Regions from separate parts of the Homo sapiens genome. Here all the other regions are linked to region 2. Evidence: promoter capture Hi-C in 16 types of primary human blood cells and fetal thymus (Javierre and others, 2016). All regions are on one chromosome and are shown on one strand. The core of a region is centred on a gene start or on the middle of the fragment in contact, and the rest is flanking DNA. Distances in the headings are between cores, read along the strand shown. Region 1 holds the start of AFG2B (AAA ATPase AFG2B). Region 2 overlaps GOLM2 (golgi membrane protein 2). Region 3 holds the start of SQOR (sulfide quinone oxidoreductase).

Region 1 (2,700 bases), core at 152-2,651, 1.1 Mb after region 2:
TCACACCTTTAGGGGTCGGTAAAAACGATGGCTTTTTTTTTATTTCAAAAAATGCAAAGCTGTTATTTAAAAGTCCCCAAACCAAAAAGAACTGAAGCCAATGGGATTAAGAGGAAAAAAGAAAACAGGAAGTAATGGGTGACTTATCCATTTCAAGACCTCCTCCTGCTATTTTCTGATTCCTAAATTGTTCCAGAATCGATTTAAGCAGACAAGTACAGCTGAGACCAGGTAAGTTACTGTCAAGTCAAGAAGTCTGTCATGTCTGCCATGAAGTTTGGACAGAATGAGATCAGGAACTGGCATGGGTCTTAAGATCCCAGATCTGACAGTACTTCCCATTGATAAGATATTACTACACAGTCTGTAATTGATTATTTGCATAGATAGAAAAAAAAAACTTCCCAGCAACTTAAGCACTCTAAAATATCAGTTTTGTCAACTCACAAATTTGGGTTGCAGTGAAAGTGGGGAAAATAGAGGTAGGAAGATGTAAGTCAAATAAAAACAAGGTATATCTTCTTGTCTTTGAGTATCTGTAGTTCTTTTTTAACGGCAATTAAGAGGGATAGAAAATGTATTCCAGCTGATAAAAAGGAATTCCCTGTGCGAAAGGGAAAGGCAGAAAGCAGCTGGAAAAAAAAAATAGCAGGCAGTTGTCTTAATAACGTAGATAGGTATCGCCTCTAATACAGGACTTAGTACTGTTGTGCCCCAATTAGACAGTAAGCATTGATCGCATGAACTTTAGTGATTAACTTGTTGCCAAAGAATATTCAAAAGAATATCAGAAATCAGAACAAATGTACTGTTGGTGTGCTACAAATCCATCAGGTAGCCTAGTTTTCCTTCTTTCCTCTCTACAAGGGATTTTAAGCGCTACCGTGTGCTTCCCTCCCACTATGCTGGTACTTTCCCATAGGAAGGGTTGTGCCTGGACCTCCCAGATTGGAACCCCGATTACCGAAGGTCCCAAGGCTGTATTCTCAGTTACGCCAAGTCACCTGAGACATTTGCACCAGAGCACCCAAAATTCTGTGCCCATGCGGATAGTTAGAGTTTCTTCACAAAATAGCAAAGTCTCTAGGTTGCTATTCCAACGGCGGTAGTACTGATGCTCCAGTTCGAAGGCCAGGAAAACAGAATGTAAAGCCGGTGACTTCCAAGATATATGTAACCACCAAAGTACATGCTTAATGACCTAGTGAAGTGAGCTTAAGCCGCCTCCCAGACACCTGTAACGAAGACCATCTCGGGAAAGCTCTGGGTTAGGCAACTCGATTTCACGAAAGCGGACACCAACGCTCTACCCAGAGGCCCGAGCGTCGTCTAACGTTTCCATTGGCCCTTTCGGCCTTCACTCAGCTGCTAGCAACGCAGTCTGCCCTAGCGCATGCGCGCAATCTGCTTCCGGCCTGCGAGCTCGGTGTTCCGCTTTTTGTGGGCCGGGTGGGTTTCCTAATCTGGTTTCGTCTGCCTGGTTCATCTGTGTGCGATGGCTCCGGACTCGGATCCCTTCCCTGAAGGGCCGCTCTTAAAGCTGCTACCCTTAGACGCTAGAGACCGGGGCACCCAGCGCTGCCGCCTGGGCCCGGCCGCCCTCCACGCCCTGGGCGCGCGCTTGGGCTCGGCAGTGAAGATCTCGCTACCCGACGGCGGCTCCTGCCTCTGCACTGCCTGGCCTCGGCGGGACGGAGCGGACGGCTTTGTGCAGCTGGACCCGCTGTGCGCGAGCCCCGGGGCGGCGGTCGGGGCGTCGAGATCCCGGAGGAGTCTCAGCCTGAATCGCCTCCTCCTAGTGCCCTGTCCGCCCCTGCGGCGCGTCGCCGTGTGGCCGGTGTTGCGAGAGCGGGCAGGCGCGCCCGGTGCCCGGAATACAGCCGCGGTGCTGGAGGCGGCACAGGAGCTGCTGAGAAACCGACCGATCTCCCTGGGCCACGTGGTGGTCGCTCCGCCAGGCGCTCCTGGCCTGGTGGCTGCCTTGCACATCGTCGGCGGGACGCCCAGTCCCGATCCCGCTGGGCTGGTCACCCCTCGTACCCGCGTCAGCCTTGGCGGGGAGCCTCCGTCGGAAGCCCAGCCGCAGCCCGAGGTGCCCCTGGGAGGTCTTTCGGAGGCGGCCGACTCGCTGCGGGAGCTCCTCCGCCTCCCGCTCCGCTACCCGCGCGCCCTGACCGCGCTGGGCTTAGCGGTGCCTCGCGGGGTGCTCCTGGCGGGGCCCCCCGGAGTGGGCAAGACCCAGCTGGTGCGGGCCGTGGCGCGCGAGGCGGGCGCGGAGCTGCTGGCAGTCAGCGCCCCGGCGCTGCAGGGTTCCCGGCCTGGGGAGACCGAGGAGAACGTGCGGCGGGTCTTCCAGCGCGCCCGGGAACTGGCCAGCCGCGGACCCAGCCTCCTCTTCCTGGACGAGATGGACGCCTTGTGTCCCCAGCGGGGCAGTCGAGCACCCGAGAGCCGCGTAGTGGCCCAGGTGTTGACGCTGCTGGACGGCGCCAGTGGGGACCGCGAGGTCGTGGTTGTGGGAGCCACTAACCGGCCGGACGCTCTAGACCCAGCGCTGCGTAGGCCCGGGAGATTTGACCGAGAGGTGAATGGGCTTGGCGGGTTTGCCCACTGTCGGTGGAACCTCGGCCGCTTCTGGCGCCATTTGGCTGCCCCGGAGGCGTTTGCCTCTTAGGTTTGAGCATCGGTGAGGTTGGAGTT
Region 2 (2,700 bases), core at 120-2,619:
AATTTTTGATTTTTTAGTAGAGACAGGGTTTCACCATGTTGGCCAGGCTGGTCTTTAACTCCTGACCTCAAGTGATCTGCCCACCTTGGCCTCCCAAAGTGCTGGATTACAGGCATGACCCACCACATCCGGCCTTGAACATGGAAATTCTTTAAGGGAGCTTTAAGTTGCTCCTGTCTTGTCCAAAGAAGTGAGAAACAACCCCCACTTCTCTGAGATTCCCTCAAACTTTCTGATTTTTTAAACTTCCCTCTAAAGGGTTTCAGCCTGGAGGGGTGTATTAGTTTGCTAGGGCTGCCATAACAAAATGCCACAGACTAGGTGGCTTAAACAGCAGAAATTTATTTTCTCACATTTTTGAAGGTTGGAAGTCTAAGACCAAGGTGCCAGCAGGGTTGTTTTTCTCTGAACTTCTCTCCTTGGCTTGCAGATGGCAACCTTCTTGCTGCTTTATTGTGACATGATAGTCCCTCTGTATGCACACATCCTTGGTGTCTTTTCCTCTTCTTAAAAGGATACGAGTCATATTGGATTAGACCCACTGTAACTTAAGCACTTTAAAGACCTTGTCTCCAAATACAGTTACATTCTGAGATCCTGGAGGCTGGGACTTCAACATGTGAATTTGGGGGAAACACAGTTCATCTTAGAACAAGGGAGATCCACCACACATACACACACACACACACACACACACACACACAGACACCCTTTTATTTCCTCTTTTATCAGAAAAGTCCTTATTTCTCTTTCCTCAGTACAGGGCATGTCTCTTAACTTTGATTATTATTCTCTCTCTCTTTGTCTTTTAAAGAGATGGGGTCTTACTACATTGCCCAGGCTAGAATGCAGTAGCTATTCATAGGTGTGATCATAGCACACCACAGCCAGGAACTCCTGGTCTCAAGTGAAGGTCCTCCTGTTTAAGCCTTCTGAGTAGCTGAAACTACAGGTGTGCACCACTGTGCTTGGCTCCTAAACTTGGATTCTTGCAAACTGTAGCTCATACTAAAGCTATGTGGTCCAGCTGTGGCACGTCAAGCTCTTGATAAATAAAAGGAGCTGTTAGAATGTAGAAAAAGTCCTCAAAATTGTCGTTTTATTACACACATACACACACATACACACACATCAGTTTTGAGGTTTGAAGCTGAATAGTAAATGACCTTTTTTCCCTTTAACAACCATAATTTTCCTTGAGGCAGCCTATGCCTTTAGTTGAATGGGGAAAAGGTCATATGTCAGAAAGGAGGATGAGAAGCGTATTACAAAAAAATGCTTTTTGGGGGAAAATTTTGGAATATAATAGTAGTCTCTCTTATTCTTGAGAGGTTTGAGTAAATTGATTAAAATTCTTAAAACAGTGCCTACTACATTGTTATTCTACAGCTACTTCCTTATTTCTTTTCTGCCTTTTTTCCAGGATGGGACTCTGTCTGTGTTCCTGCCCAAGATCTGGTCCCAGCCCTAGCCTACCTGCCTCACCCTTTGCTCCTGAATGTCTGACTGTTTTTGTTATTTGCTTGTTTTCAGTTTCCTGGTTCATTTCCAGTTAGGCTTAGTTGGCTCCTCCCATAGGTGTCTTAGCTGACTCCCTAGAGCTTGCCTGTTCTTCTGTAATTTGAGTATCAACCTTCTACAGTTCTAATATGCTGCACATGATAATTCCTGCCTTTGCCTCTGCCTCACCAGCCATAATCTGGCCAACTTTTAACTGTAATTTCTACCTCAAATTATTCATAAACCAATCAAAACTGATAACTCTTCCAAACGATATCCCTTTCCTACCTTCTTGGTTCCTATAAATGATGCCCATGCAACTGTTATTTAAGACTGAGGTTAGAAATTTGGTGTTGTCTTTGATTCCTTCAGTGTATCATATTGAGTGCTTCAACATGCAGAGGAGTTACTTGATCGAATTAAAAAAAACGTCATTCTGACTGCAGAATAGAGAACTTGGCAGATCCCTAACTAGTCCCCTTTCCTTGGTCTCCATTTCTTTTTGTCAGTTCTCCTGTGAAGCCAGCCTGAACTTCCTCAAACCTTATTTTCAGAGTGGCTGTATGACTCACTGACTACATCAGGTTAGAATTCTGCTGTCTCATCTTTAAGGTCTTCCATAGAATGGCTCTAGCTACCTTTGTCTCCCACTATCTCCTGACCCAAATTGTATTTCAGGCTGATTGTTTTGCTTACTTTTGCCTTCCCACCTGCCTTTCTGTGTCATGTTAATTCCTGTTTCTGTGCCTTTGTTCCTGCTGTTTGACTCTTAGTTTCTTGCCTCTTTTCTGTATATTTATTATACCAATTTTTTTTTGTTTTTTTTTTTTTAATTGAGGCAGAGTCTTGCTCTGTCGCCCAGGCTGGAGTGCAGTGGTGTGATCTTGGCTCACTGCAAGCTCCGCCTCCCGGGTTCACACCATTCTCCTGCCTCAGCCTCCTGAGTAGCTAGGACTACAGGCACCCGCCACCAGGCCCAGCTAAATTTTTTGTATTTTGAGTAGAGAAGGGGTTTCACCATGTTAGTCAGGATGGTCTCCATCTTGATCTCCTGACCTCATGATCCACCCGCCTTGGCCTCCCAAAGTGTTGGGATTACAGGTGTGAGCCACCGCACCTGGCCTTTTTTTTTTTTTTTTTTGAGATGGAGTCTTGCTCTGTTGCCCAGGCTGCAGTACAGTGACGCAATCTTGGCTCATT
Region 3 (2,700 bases), core at 1-2,500, 1.3 Mb after region 2:
TACAGTCTGCGTTTGTATTGTATTGTTCATGATGATTTTGCCATAGATACAGTCAGTCTCTTTGATTAAAGATAGAAAGTATCAGTTGAAAACATTTAAAAAAATAATATTCAAGGCTGGGCATGGTGGCTCACGCCTGTAATCCCAGCACTTTGGGAGGCCCAGGAGGGCAGATCGCTTGAGGCCAGGAGTTTGAGACCAGCTTGGCCAACATGGTGAAACCTCATCTCTACTGAAACATACAAAAATTAGCCGGGCATGGTGGCACACACCTGTAGTCCCAGCTACTCAGGAGGCTGAGACACCAGAATTGGTTGAACCCATGAGGCAGATGTTGCAGTGAGCCGAGATTGCTCTACTCACTGCGCTCCAGCCTGGGCAACACAGTGAGACTCTGTTTCAAAAAACAACAACAACAACTATATATATATATATATATATATATATTCAAAATTCATAAAACCAAATAAGTGTAAAAGAAACTCAAACTTTCAAGGGTTTATTTTTGTTTGTTTTTTTGAAAGCTTCTAGCACTTGCACTTCTCAGGTTATGAGACTTTTGGGACACCCTGTATTTATTGTAAAAAGGGTTACTGAATCTGATATGGTGGAGAACCACTCACTGAGACTTTACATCAACCTGGAAAGAGCCGCCAACTGAAAATGTCCAGTCATGAATATGGGATGGGACACTGTGGAGGCCAGTGGCTGGAAGCCAGCTTACCCCTGCCTGCGCGTTTTGAAGGAAGGGCTCCAGCGCACACCAAAGCTGAACCTCGGTCACCTTCTCTGTGAAATGAGCGCGGGAATACCTGTGTTTCTGGGCAGCTGTGTGAACCCGGTGAGAAGCCCAGGGCACATAGGAGGACCCAGTGGGAACAGCCAGAGCCTCTCTGCACAGCGCCCCGCCTCCGCTTTTGCCTGCCCTGATTACAAAACGCTGTTGGCACCCAGGGGCGGAAGCGTCAGGTGGCCTCGGTGTCCTCCGCCTGTGCGCCCCAGCCTGCGGGGCCGCCCTTCAGGGCGCGCAAGGGGCGAGTCTGTCCAGCCGGCAGCACCCCAGGCCGGATGGACGCTTGTTCCTGGTTCTGTGCCCCGTGAGCGCTCAACGCCCTGGTGTGTTCACTGACCATGGTGCCTGGGCTGCGGCGCCGGGCGGGGCACGGCGGGACTTTTCGGGACCTTTCCTGGGGGGAGCCTCGCTTTCCCCGCCTCCAGCCTCCGCCCGGATGGCAGGCGGGCGGGGCCCCAGTCCAGGCCTTGAGACCCAGAAGGGAGCGAAGGTTTTTGCTGCGCCAACGCAGTGACCGAAGGCTCCGCTCACGCCCGGGTAAGAGGCATCCGCGGCCGATCTTTGGCCCTGGGCCAGCGGAGGGAGACTGGGCGGGGACAGCGACCACCACTGAGGCTGTTTGTTAGCTTAACTCGGTTTCCGCAGCTGGGACTCCGCAGACCCGGTGCGCCGCGCCCCAAACTTTGCTTCCTCAACTCCGGACACCTGCAGCTCTTGCTGCCCTTGTCTGGAACCCGGGTCTTGGGACTCTTGCTTCCTTCTCAGAGTGTCAGAGCCTCAGGGCCGCGGAGAGGCCAACCCGCGAGGGGTGCTTAAAAACCGAAGTATCCGTGGTCTTGGTGTGTGGACGTTTCTGGCGCCTTCCACCTGTTGACTGTCACTCGGCACCGTCCTGGAGCGGGAGTGGGTGCTCGGCGTCCGGGGGCCAGGGATTGACACAGTCATCCACCGACACTGCGCGTGGGACAGAGGGGGCGCTCGAGGGGTCGGCTGCAGCTGAAACCTGAAGGGGAGAGGATTTAGGGCACCTGCTGAACAGGAATTGGTGGAAAGGGAGAAGGGGTCTTCTGGTGGAATCTGGGCTCATTTCCTTTCCTCTTCATCTGTCTCTTTTATTTATCAAAATTCCAACCTGGCTTTTTGCTCAAAGACGCTGAACAGAGCCCCTGGCTTTGCCTGCGCTGCCCATTGCTATAATGCAGGGCTCTGTTCCATTTTTGTGCTGTGCACCCCTTTGGCATTTCTGGGAAGGCTAAAGACTCTCAGAACAATACTTTTTTTTGAGACAGAGTCTTGCTCTGTCGCCCAAGCTGGAGTGCAGTGGCGCGATCTCGGCTCACTGCCACCTCCACCTCCCGGGTTCAAGCGATTCTCCTGCCTCAGCCTGCCGAGTAACTGGGATTACAGGCGCAGCACACCTGGCTAATTTTAGTATTTGTAGTAGAGGCGGGTTTCACCATGTTGCCCAGCTGGTCTCGAACTCCTGGCCTCAAATGATCCGCACACTTCGGCCTTCCAAAGTGCTGGGATTACACGAGTGAGCCACCGCGCTGGACCAGAACAATGCTTTTTTAAAGGTATAAAACAAAAGGAAGAGTATTATAAAGGAAACCAATTGCAAAACACATGTCAAAACATTAAAAGAATTTATGATATGGTAATATATATGTCTTTAAAAAACGAATGCGTTATTTAATAACAAGGTTATTAAATAACAAGATCTAGCAGTGGATTAAATAGTTACCATAATTTTGAAGTAGTAAAGAACATAAACAATTATTTCAAGATATAGGTAATACTTGTAATATAAGAAAATATCTGTAATTTCTTTCTTCTTTTTTTTTTTTTTTTGAGACGGAGTCTCACTCTGTCACCAGGCTGGAGTGCAGTGGCGCGATCTCGGTTCA

Evidence for each region. The method cuts DNA at HindIII sites, captures the fragments that hold promoters and counts their contacts. A CHiCAGO score of 5 or more calls a contact.
Region 1: the fragment with the promoter of AFG2B here is called in contact with a fragment that was not itself captured in region 2 in 1 of 17 cell types (neutrophils); the score reaches 8.7 in neutrophils.
Region 3: the fragment with the promoter of SQOR here is called in contact with a fragment that was not itself captured in region 2 in 1 of 17 cell types (neutrophils); the score reaches 5.4 in neutrophils.

Annotation. Positions count from the first base shown.
Region 1 is chr15:45,400,935-45,403,634 of GRCh38, forward strand. AFG2B (AAA ATPase AFG2B) reads left to right here and starts at 1,402. Exons shown (of 8, transcript NM_024063.3): 1 at 1,402-2,584. The coding sequence starts at 1,496. It also overlaps a transcript of GATM not described here. RefSeq lists enhancers at 855-904, 915-984, 1,375-1,534 and silencers at 1,615-1,694, 2,085-2,234. The HindIII fragment of the contact is 3,246 bases long and covers 1-2,700 here.
Region 2 is chr15:44,295,245-44,297,944 of GRCh38, forward strand. All of the region lies in intron 1 of GOLM2 (golgi membrane protein 2), which reads left to right. Among named protein-coding and RNA genes, the nearest start is that of GOLM2, 7.9 kb to the left of the region's middle. RefSeq lists a silencer at 807-1,101. The HindIII fragment of the contact is 6,274 bases long and covers 1-2,700 here.
Region 3 is chr15:45,633,779-45,636,478 of GRCh38, forward strand. SQOR (sulfide quinone oxidoreductase) reads left to right here and starts at 1,251. Exons shown (of 10, transcript NM_021199.4): 1 at 1,251-1,330. RefSeq lists enhancers at 395-1,390, 1,853-1,942, 1,973-2,022 and a silencer at 1,203-1,372. The HindIII fragment of the contact is 3,121 bases long and covers 523-2,700 here.